Regions from separate parts of the Homo sapiens genome. Here all the other regions are linked to region 3. Evidence: promoter capture Hi-C in human tissues and cell types (Jung and others, 2019). All regions are on one chromosome and are shown on one strand. The core of a region is centred on a gene start or on the middle of the fragment in contact, and the rest is flanking DNA. Distances in the headings are between cores, read along the strand shown.

Region 1 (4,180 bases), core at 748-3,247, 170 kb after region 3:
CAGCTTGGAGGGTAGAGCATGAGCCTCCGGTCACATGGCAGTGTATCTGCTGTGTCACTTTGGGCGAGTTACTTTAGCTCAGTTTTCTCAGGTGTGAAAAGGAGATAAAATAGTAGCACTGCATAGGATAGATACTGCCCAACATCTCAAGCACTTGGTAAGCTCTCGAAAAATTAACAATTATTATTTATGCTTTAATTGACTCAAACTATGAATCCTTTATTACTTGGCTATTCTGTGCTCTTTTATTTTCTCAAACCTTATGATTCAGAAACACATATTCGTGAGAAGAGAAAGGGAACTGAGAATTCCGTCCAAGCACAGCCCAAACAAGGGATCATCCAGTCTTTCCTGAATACTTGCAATGTGACCTCTAAGTTCCCTTATCGTGATAACTTTCATGAGCAGCTAAAGTCTCATGGTTCTCCTACGCTAAAGACTCCTAAGCAGCCCCTTCCAATTTAGGACAGGTCCTCTTTCATTAAACTGAAATCTTTCTCTCTTATACCTGCCACCATTATTCCTAATTTGCTGCTTAGAAGTGAGTAGAATCAGCATGAAAAGTGTCCAGAAGGCAGAGACATATTCATATTCTTCTCTACGTGGCCCCAGCATCATGCATGGTGCCCAACCCTGAGTTTACGCTCAGTTTTTGTTTAATCTATTAAGGCTTTAAATATCTGAATGTAGCCATGAGGTACCTCCATAGCCTTAAATGTCCCTTCTCAAAACCAATGTTCTCCTATTTCTTCAAAATTCCCACAGAACATAGTGCCCAGACTGTTCACCATCTAAGTGGTCCTTTGGTTGAGCACAATATTCCAGGGGCAGTCTGACAGGTTAGAGATGTATCATCAACCTTCTTCTGTTCACTCCATTCATTCACTCACTCAATAGCTCATTCAACAAAGAACACCTTATATGCTTATTCCCAGAAAATTCTAGGAGATTCCAAAGTGAGAATTATGACTTGTATACAGCTCAACACACTTGGCTGTTGACTAATGCTTGCATTTCCCTTCAGGAAGAAGTCACGATAATAGTTCTTTCTTTCTTTCTTTCTTTCTTTTTGAGACAAAGTCTCACTCTGTTGCCCAGGCTGAAGTGCAGTGGCACGATCTCGGCTCACTGCAACCTCTACCTCCCGGGTTCAAGCAATTCTCCTGCCTCAGCCTCCTGTGTAGCTGGGATTACAGGTGCCTGACACACCTGGCTAATTTTTGCATTTTTAGTAGAGACAGGGTTTCACCATGTTGGCCAGGCTGGTCTCAAACTCCTGACCTCAGGTGATCTGCCTGTCTCGGCTTCCCAAAGTGCTGGGATTACAGGCATGAGCCACCATGCCCGGCTCGTGCTAGTTCTTTCTAAATCCACCCTGACACTAATTTCAGTTCACATGGATCATCAAATCAGTTTTTGTTCCTCGCATTGGATGTTGAGCTTCTGTTAATGTTCCTGATTGACGTAATCTTTCTCCAAAATTAATATTTTTAAAAGAAAGCTTATTTTTTCTTTCTTTCACAGTTGTACATTTATTATGCCTCCTGGTACAGCTTCTAGAGATTGCTAATCTTTCTGTTTTTCCCTTCACACAATGGGCAACATACATCTCCTCCTCTTTCAACCTATGTAGTTGCAGAAGAATAAGTCAGGCTTTCCCAGAGGAACTCTACATTCAAATATCAATCACCAGGAACCACAGGGGAAGAGGAAATAAAAGAAATGAAAGAAGAAATGTTTTGCTAAGTAGAGATTTTTTTAAAGAAACTACTTCCATACATTTGCAGGCAAGTCAGCTACAGGAATGCCTAAAAGTTTGTTATCCTCCCAAGGAACAGCTGACAGGTTTAATTTTAACACAATCCTTGAAAGAGCTTAGGGAGTCCAGGATAAACGGTTGTGCTATAAATCTGTGATACAACAGGACAGGATGGGTGTGTGCCCCCTAATAAATATTGATACTGGTTCCCAGACTTTCATATAATGACTATTTTCAAAGGGAGAGTCTTTTACCTCAATGCTTAGACTGACAGGCAATGATGTGGAAGCTCTTTCATCAACAAAATGGGTGGAGAAACACTAGCATAATTAACTCCTGTAGCTGCTTTTTTTTTTTAGACTTGTGATCCCACAACTCACAATTCACTGATTCTCTCTCTGAAGTAACTTACATTTCCCAGGTGATCAGACAAGGTCTACCAACTTCAAGGTCAAACCACCAACCAGTGAGAGATTTGAAGTCAGGCTCCATCTGAGATTGTGGCTGGGGCAGAGGGAAGCACAGGGTTTAGCAAGTTTGACTCATTGCAGGGCCAATGAAGATCCAAAGGAGAAACAAGGTGTCCATGTGGAGACCCTGGAGAGACAAAAATTGCTGCCCCAGCAGCTGCCCTCTTCTGTCACCATGTGTAAACCCACACATGAAGGAAGCCACCAAGCATTCCAAGCACCTGGGGCTGTTCCTGCTTACATAATTTCATAGAGAACAAATGCAAAGCCAGGGAAACCTGGAGTACAGCCCCAGGGGACCTGAAGAGGAAAGCAAATGAGATTCAGGGGGTGTTTTCAACTCTTTTTCCCCCATGAAGGTTCTGACTGTGGAAGAAAGAAGAGGTTGGAATAAGTGAACAACTGGATTGGACTTTTAAGCTACATTTTACAATGCCAACATGATGACTACCAGCATAAGGCAGAGGGTGTCTAACGAGAACTGATAAGGAATTTTTGGCAATATACTCCTGAAGAGAGCAAGAAAGCTTTAAACTGTGCAAGAGAGAAAGTGCCCGCATGAAATGGTAAAAACAGAGTAGGATGGACAAATCAACATTAATACATAAAAAAAAACACACTTGGCTTCTTCAAAGAGCACATAAAAAAATCCTAAACTCTTACTATTTTTAGTAAATTATTATGTAAACAATCACTAGTATGAAACTCATGACTTGAATTCAGCAGGGGAACAGTGTACATTGTCCATTTCAAACGAATTATATATTTTTTAATAAGACCAAATGAGAATGCATAAAGAGAGGCTGCCAGCTAAAATCATTAATTCATTCATTCAATAAAGATTTACCACTTAACAACTCCATGTCACATTTTGTGCTCATTAAAATCTTATGTAGGCACAGCAGCTATGTAAGTAAATATTACTTTTTTTATTTTTTTTTAGACAGAGTCTCACTCTGTCGTCCAGGCTGGAGTACAGTGGTGTGATCTCAACTCTCAGCTCACTGCAACCTTCACCTCCCGGGTTCAAGTGATTCTCCTGCCTCAGCCTCCCGAGTAGGTGGGATTACAGGCACCCACCACCGCGTCCTGCTAATTTTTGTATTTTTAGTAGAGACGGGGTTTCACCATGTTGGCCAGGCTGGTCTCAAACTCCTGACCTCAAGTGATCTGCCTACCTCAGTCTCCCAAAGTGCTGGGATTACAGGCATGAGCCACTGCACCCAGCCTCAATATTACTTCTTGCTCTTATAAAGCTTATTAGCTAGTGAGTACCTCACCATACATGTCTTTAAAAAAGAGATACAACTGAAGTCAAAGAGGGGAAAAAGGTTCTAATAAAGATCATGTGGAGAAAAGACCCCAATGGACAGAGTCAAAGTGAGAAAGCTCGCAGGTCAGCTAAGCAAGTGTTCAGTGCAACCCAATGCAATGATTAGAAGAATCCTAAAAAATCCTACAAAATAGGAATGATAATTTCCATTCACAGAGTTGTTGCAAGAAATCAATGAGGATATACATGTCAAGTACATGGGACATAGTAAGTACCTAACAAATAGTGATTTTTAAAGAATTTTAAAACTTTATACTTTCTGTCTTATATTTCTGAATTATTTGCATTTTTACAATAAATATATAGTATAATGATAATCAGGAAAAAAGGAGGGAAAGGAAACCTGCCAAAATATAAGGAAGTATGTAAATTAATCTTCAATAAAGTTGATTTCTTTTTTAAATACATGGAAGTACAGTAGTCCCCCCTTATCCACAGTTTGGCTTTCCTCTATTTCAGTTTCCTATGGTACAGTACAGTACAGTAAGATATTTTGAAAGAGAGACCACAGTCACATAACTTTTATTACAGTATATTGCTAAAATTGTTCTATTTTATTATTTTGTTAATCTCTTACTTTGCTTAATTTATAAATTAAATGTTATCATAGATATGTGT
Region 2 (3,964 bases), core at 818-3,317, 200 kb after region 3:
TGAAACTATGAAACTACTACAACAAAACATGAGGGAAACTTTCCAGGACATTGGAGTAGACAAAGATTTCTTGAGTAATACCAGACAAGCATAGGCTACCAAAGAAAAAAATGGACAAATGGGAACTCATCAAGTTAAAAAAAAAATCCCTCTGCACAGCAAAGAAAACAATCAATAAAGAGAATAGACAACACACAGAATGGGCTAAAATATTTGCAAACTACCCATCTGACAAGAGATTAATAACCAAAATATAAAAGGAGCTCAGACAACTCTATAGGAAAAAAATCTAATAAGCCAATTAAAAGATGGGCAAAATATTTGAGTAGACATTTCTCAGAGAAGACATACAAATGGGCAACAGGCATATAAAAACGTGTTCAACATCACTGATCATCAGAGAAATGCAAATGAAAACTACAATGACGTATCATCTCACTTCAGTTAAAATGGCTTTTATCCAAAGACAGGCAATACAAATGCTGGCGAGGATGTGGAGAAAACCTCGTACGCTGTTGGTGGGAATGTAAATTAAGACCACCACTATGGAGAGCAGTTTGGAGATTCCTCAAAAAACTAAAACTAGAGCTACCATATGATCCACTACTTGGTATATACCCCCAAAAAAGGAAATCAGTATATCAAAGAGATATCTGCACTCTTATGTTTACAGCAGCACTATTCACAATAGCCAAGATTTGGAAGCAACCCAAGTTCCACCAGCACACAAACAGATAAAGAAAATGTGGTACATATACACAATTGTGGACTATTCAGCCATAGAAAAAGAATAAGAGCCTGTCATTTGCAACAATATGGATGGAAATGGAGATCATTATGTTAAGTGAAATAAGCCAGGCACAGAAAGACAAATTTCACATGTTCTCAATTATTTGTGAGAGCTAAAAAATAAAACAATGAAACTCATGGAGCTAGAGAGTAGAAGGAAGGTTACCAGAGGCTGGGAAGGCTAATTGGACTGAGGGGTGGGCAGGAGGGGGAGGGGAATGTGGGGATGGTTAGTGGGTGCAAAAAAGTAGAAAGAATGAATAAGACCTAGTATTTGATAGCACAATAGAGTGACTATAGTCAATAATAATTTAATGATACATTTTAAGATAACTAAGAGTATAATTGGACTTTTTGTATTGCAAAGGATAAATGCATGAGGGGATAGATACCCCATTTACCCTAATGTAATTATTACACATTGCATGCCTGTATCAAAATATCTTATGTACCCCAGAAATATGTACTCCTACTGCATACTCACAATTAAAAATAAAAAATTTTTAAAGAAAAAAATAAAATAAAATAAATGTTAATCTCATCCAAAAACATTCTCATAGAAATACACAGAATAATGTTTAACCAACTATCTAGAAACTGAGCCCAGCCAAGTTGATACACACAATTAACCATCACATTTCCTAATACTGAACAATTCTAACATTATCAGAATAAACACAATTCATGGAATATTATTTGCATCGATCTGCTACTGAATTCTTTTCACAATTTTTACATCAATATTCAAAATAAAGATTTATCTATCATTTTCTATTTCCTCTTTGACAGGCTTGATATTAGCATGTTTTTCACATCATCAGATGAATGTGAAGGATTTTTCTTTTTTTCCATTCTATTCTGCAGATATTTAAAGTGCATTAAAGTTCCATGTTCAGCAAAGTTATGGTCATATAGTTTCATGAAATCATCTGGGCCTGGTGCATTTTGTGGAGGCTAGCAGTAACTCTTTGGCAAATTTCTCTATTTCTTCTACTGTCTTTGGCCTATATATGTTTTAACTCTTTTAAGATACATTTTGGGCCGGGTGCGGTGGCTCACGCCTGTAATCCCAGCATTTTCGGAGACTGAGGCGGGTGGATCACCTGAGGTCAGAAGTTCGAGACCAGCCTGACCAACAAGGCGAAACCCGTCTCTACTAAAAAGACAAAGATTAGCTGGGCGTGGTGGCCAGTGCCTGTTAGTGCTAGCTACTCGGGAGGCTGAGACAGGAGAATTGCTTGAACCCGGGAGGCGGAGCCTGCAGTGAGCCGAGATCACACCACTGCACTCCAGCCTGGGCGACAGATCAAGACTCTGTCTCAAAAAAAAAAAAAAAAAAAGGCCAAGCGCGGTGCTCACGTCTGTAATCTCAGCACTTTGGGAGGCCGAGGCGGGCAGATCACGAGGTCAGGAGATCGAGACCATCCTGGCTAACACGGTGAAACCAGGTCTCTACTAAAAATACAAAAAATTAGCCGGGCGTGGTGGCGGGCGCCTGTAGTCCCAGATACAGGTTGAGGTAGGAGAATGGCGTGAACCCGGGAGGCGGACGTTACAGTGAGCCGAGATGGCGCCACTGCACTCCAGCCTGAGAGACAGAGCAAGACTCCATTTCAAAAAAAAAAGATACATTTTGTTACTTCATATTTTCCTATAATGTCAACCAATTTCATATAGGTATATTTGTAAATATTAAGCAAAAATCATGTTATGCTGGTTCATTTACTTTCCTCTGGTTTTGCAATTAGTTCTACATTGTCATTTCTAATACATGGTTTTAGGTATTCCTTTTAAAAAACGATTAGATGACCTAATAGTTTATATATTTCTCTGATTTTTCAAACAAACTCATGCATTTATTTAGTTTCTATAAATGTTTCTAGTTTCTAACATATACATTTCTGCTTTTATTTTTTCTGCTTTTCTTGGGTTCGATTATTTTACTCCTAACTTTTTAATTCAATACTTATTTTTTATGACCATAAGTATGTGGAGTGTATTTTTTTCAAGTTCTTTCCAACTATTATTGGATTATACTATTCAAAAAATGCATACACATAGAACAAAGTTTTCTAAGAAAGTACATTAAATCTATGTTCTATTTTCAAGGCTACTGAAATAGTAGCCTCGACATATATAAAAGACATGAATAGTAGCCTTGAAATATATAAAAGATGGGTGATCATTTCCTTTTGTTACTCTTTGGAAATAATGGCAAAACAGCATAATAACAGTATAGCTTATGGCTGTGAACTTGGACTCTGCCATCTTGCAGCTCTGGATTAAACTCTCGACCTTATTACTTACCTGCTGTGCGATTTTTGGGAGGTTACTTATATTCCCTGGGCTTCTGTGTCCTTACCTGAAAAAATAAGGATTTAAAAAACAAAAAAGATATTTATTACAGAGGACTGTGGCAAGAGGTGAACCTGGCTGGGCTTTTGGGTAGGGTGGGGACTTGGAGAACTTTTCTGTCTAGCTAAAGGATTGTAAATGCACCAATCAGCACTCTGTCAAAACGGACCAATCAGCTCCCTGTAAAATGGACCAATCAGCTCTCTGTAAAATGGCCCAGTCAGCAGGATGTGGGTGGGGCCAAGTAAGGGAATAAACGCAGGCCACCCAAGCCAGCGGCTGCAACCTGCTCGGATGCCCTTCCACAGCGTGGAAGCTTTGTTTTTTTGTTCCTTGCAATAATTGTTGCTGCAGCTCGCTTTTTGGATCTGCGCCACTTTTATGAGCTGTAAGGCTCACTGGGAAGGTCTGCAGCTTTACTCCTGAAGGCAGCGAGACCACGAACCCGCCAGAAGAAACAAACTCCAGACACATCTAAACATCTGAAGGAACAAAGTCTGGACACACCATTTTTAAGAACTGTAATGCTCAGCGCGAGGGTCCGCAACGTTATTCTTGAAGTCAGCGAGACCGAGAACCCACTGGAAGGAACCGATTCTGGACACATCAGGATGATGAAAAGTAAAAATCATTTTGAAAAGCATAGAACAGTGCTTTGTCACACAAGTTCAATTACTGTATTTGCTTGTTTATGAAGTAAGTGAATATTACACTTATGGTTTATTTCAGAAGGCTGATAGCATATCAATATTGATTTACAGAGGTCTGGACAAGAAGGCCTGGTTCAAACCCATGACAGAAATGGAGCCTATTCATTCAC
Region 3 (3,778 bases), core at 903-3,402:
TCTACTGGCATATCATGTCATCTATTCCTTGGATTTTGATTTTCATGTTTGTGATGCCTTTAATACAATGCAGCTTTTGGAGACTTTGCAAGTTTAGAATATGGTGCAATATACAAAATTCAAGACAGCACTGGCTGCTTTGTGGCTCATGACTCTGATACTTACGCTCCTTTACATTTAAAAATTAAATCATATGGGAGACCAACAAAATTCTGCAACTGGCCTTCCTATAGAAATTCTCTATGCTAATATAAAAACTGTGTGTACTTCTTGAATTAAAAGCCATCTGAAATATACTCAATGCACCCATTACCAAGTAATATATTCTTAAACAACAAATTTTACAATGGCTATGGTATATCTGGCTTTTTAAAAAACAGAAGCTAGGCCAACCTACCTATTTTAACTTAGGAGTTTATAGCCTGACTCTTATTTTAAATTTGCATTTTTTACTGGGCCATTAAGAGAGAAAAATTATCTGCTTTTACATATTTGATTCTCCTTTTTGCCAGCTTCCCCAACATTTCTAGAACTGTCCAGGAAAAGTCAAGCAACTTTTTGAAGAAGGTGGAAATGAGTGGGGTATGACAGAAGCAAAATTGAATTTAGTGTGAGGCCCTTGGTGCCAATTTGGATCCAAAGTGCATTAAAGCAGCAGAATTCTAAACCTTGCAAAACTGGGATTTATAAGGGGAATGCTAACACAGATTCAACAGTTACAGCTCTGCAGGGATTACTTTAATACCAAAAGCATACTCTCTCACTTTATAGAAAGAGATTACTCAGTTGCCAAACAACAAAGGTTGCGTTTATTTGTTTATTTTAAAACTTTTACTTATTTTTTTTAAGTGCACTTTTTACTTTACTGGCAGGCAATCCTGAAATCAAATGTCCTTTATAGGGGTGGGGGCACGGGAGAAGAGAAAACAGGAGGAAGGTGGAGTTTGTCTCTGCCTCCACAGTTCGTATTATCTATAAGGCTTTGCCAGCTTTGCTTAACTGTTTCCACCCTGCTTTTGTTAAGAAGAAACCAAAAGTGTGGAGCGGGGAAAAAAGATAAATCTGAAATACACCTGACAGGGAAAAACAACTGGACACTGATACAAGAACAAGAAGATATTTAAATTGATGTTGGTCTAGAGAAAAATGTGAGGACAAGATTTTTAAGAGAAAGAAAAAAATCTGAAAGTCAAAAAAAAAGAAAAAAAAACAAAAACAGGAAAGCTAATCTTTGATTAAAATACTCAGCAGAATGTCAGGGAGAGGAAGACAAACACCTAAGTGATAATTTTTATGTTTATTGTGTCTGAAATGAAATGAGAGGGAACAAGCAAGTTAACGCTGGGAAGAGATAAGGGACAATAAAAGAGTGAAGTTAGTGACTTTCTGCAGAGGACAAAGTATGTAGTTTGAAATCCTTAACAACGGACTTGCAGTGTCTCTGCAAAAGTTGGTGAAAGATACCAGCAAGTGTAGGAAGGGGAGTATTTGAGGATGTCTTTCACAGACCCCAGATGGAGAAGCTGTTCTTTTATTCCAAATGCCTAAGAAGCACAGAAGTCTTACATGTTAATAAGAGAACACAGAGACACACACTCATAAGTTACACGCTGTGAAACAAAACAAGCAAAGGAGACCTTTTTTGACCCCTGTTCACTTACACAAATCTTAGTTTGGTTAAACGTCTTAAGACCAGTTTCCAGCTCCTTTTCACGGCTTTCTTTCCCTGGGTACCCAGGTGCACAAATGGGATGGTGATCTTTACAAAACAACATCATCAACAACAAAAAAAACCTCTTGCTCACACAAAAGCCCACCTTGTAAATGAATGGAATATTAACGATCACCTAATACTTGCACCTTTGGCAGGGCGAAACTGAACACTAACACAGCTATTTCTACAGATTGCCAGTGAAACCGAAGCAGTTCGAGGAGAAATGCACCTACTGTACGTGAAATGCTGGTGCAGATTTTTTTCCTATCAGTCTAACCTTCTGTGTTGATGCATGAAGGCTGGTACCCACTTACAGGGATGCCAGATGATCAGTGCAGAATGAAGGTCCCAAGAGAGAGGATCACATGGCTCTCTCTGCCCTGTGACGTCACTAGCAGATGGCATGGGTACCAGCTCTGGCAGTTGGCATCAATGTCACTTTTTAGAGATCAATGAGATAGTGCAGATATACACAGATCTAGAGACTCCAGGAGACGATGCGACACTCAGCCTGAAAAGATTTGGAAGACCCAAAATGAAAACTGATTATTGAATGAAATTAAAACCTAAGGTAATATAAATAAAGATATACTTCAATTGATGCTGGCTTTGCATGCAAGTATTTAAAGATACAGTGTCACTGTCTTATAGTATTTATATGCTCTTTGCCATCTATAACTTATCATATTTCATTCTTATGATGTAATTATCACATACTTTCACTGCTATTATGTAACACTGCAAGTATGTGGACATTACTAAGAGTTTGTGTATGTGTTCGTGTGTATATGTGTGTGTTGAGGGGGCTGGAGATTGTTAAATTGAAAAGTCTCTGCTTTAATGTGCCTATTTGTTTGAAGACTTTAGATGAAAATACTTGCTGCTTCACCAGACAAAAACCAAAATGCATTTGAAACACAAATTATTTTCCCCTTTCATTTGGGATTCTGAACACACGTGCACAATTGCAGTCAGAATCCTTGGACCGTTCCTGTCAGATATTAGCTAGAGGGAGACTTCTATGGCTCGTAGAACAAAAACACTACGAGAGTGGTTTTTGTCCAGGATGATTTGAACAGCAGTAAACAGACAATTCTATTTGGAAAAAATTTAAATGTAAATAAAATCAGTCTCTATTTTTTTTAATTAAAAGAAATTGCTAGTGATTTTTATGTTTTAAATTTATTTATAGAGTTTATTCCAAATTAGCCTAATCCCCTTTTCTTTTTGAAGCCTGGGAAAATAGTGCCCTTTTACATAATTCTTTACTGATCAGAAAAAATCAGTTGAAAAATTGACTCTGATTATAATCTTTTCTTTAAATTTGTATATTCCCACACCCACTTATCTAAATTCACAGTTGTGTGATACAGCAAATAAAGTTAAGGTTTTGTTTGTTTGTTTGTTTGTTTTAAAAAAAGAACACAAATTTGTCAGCTAATGGAGAGATAGTCCATTTTAAAAACTGGTTTATCTTCTCATTTTGTGCTCAGGGGAATTGGAATTAATGAAATTCTGCATTGCAATTTCATGTTTTGCATTTGCTTGAATTCCACAATCTTTTTTGGGGGTATTAAAATCCAGTTTAAAGGCAAAGAGAAATGTAGATGGTAATGATATCACAATAATTATATGTTTCATTTTTATTTTCTTTTGATAATTTGCTCATATAAATAATCCTATTGAATGCATCAATGTCTTCATAATTACTTATCTTCACAAACTCAAAATTATATTTAATGTTAAAAAATCAGGCCCAGAATCAGTCTTTTTCACGTGTTTTTGTAATCTTATGATTAAATAATTAAATATGTTTTAAGTGTATAAACTTTAAAAATGAAAACTCTTTAAATATTGTGCTGGCATTTTTTCAGGTAATTTAAGATTAGAGAACCATGTTAACACTACCGTTTGATGAGTCTGTTGTAATGCCAGAATCCCAGATGTGCAGAAAGTTTTCTAGAGAATGCGAGGACCAGAAGCAAATTAAGAAGCCAGAAAGCTTTTCCAAACAGATTGTCCTTCGAGGAAAGAGCATCAAAAGGGCCCCTGGAGAAGAAACCG

What was found. The method cuts DNA at HindIII sites, captures the fragments that hold promoters and counts their contacts. A contact is called where the count stands out against the background at its distance.
Region 1: a contact is called between a fragment that was not itself captured here and the fragment with the promoter of NEUROD6 in region 3, in 4 of the 25 tissues and cell types used here (H1 embryonic stem cells, dorsolateral prefrontal cortex, liver and 1 more).
Region 2: a contact is called between a fragment that was not itself captured here and the fragment with the promoter of NEUROD6 in region 3, in 2 of the 25 tissues and cell types used here (hippocampus and mesendoderm cells).

The regions. Positions count from the first base shown.
Region 1 is chr7:31,167,238-31,171,417 of GRCh38, reverse strand. The region is part of intron 2 of LOC107986781 (a long non-coding RNA gene); the gene reads right to left. Among named protein-coding and RNA genes, the nearest start is that of ADCYAP1R1, 120 kb to the right of the region's middle. The HindIII fragment of the contact is 5,984 bases long and covers 1-4,180 here.
Region 2 is chr7:31,136,822-31,140,785 of GRCh38, reverse strand. It overlaps LOC107986781 (a long non-coding RNA gene), which reads right to left. Exons shown (of 3, transcript XR_001745159.1): 2 at 3,097-3,151. Among named protein-coding and RNA genes, the nearest start is that of ADCYAP1R1, 86 kb to the right of the region's middle. The HindIII fragment of the contact is 7,356 bases long and covers 1-3,964 here.
Region 3 is chr7:31,339,100-31,342,877 of GRCh38, reverse strand. NEUROD6 (neuronal differentiation 6) reads left to right here and starts at 2,152. Exons shown (of 2, transcript NM_022728.4): 1 at 2,152-2,285; 2 at 3,589-3,778. The coding sequence starts at 3,610. The HindIII fragment of the contact is 16,561 bases long and covers 1-3,778 here.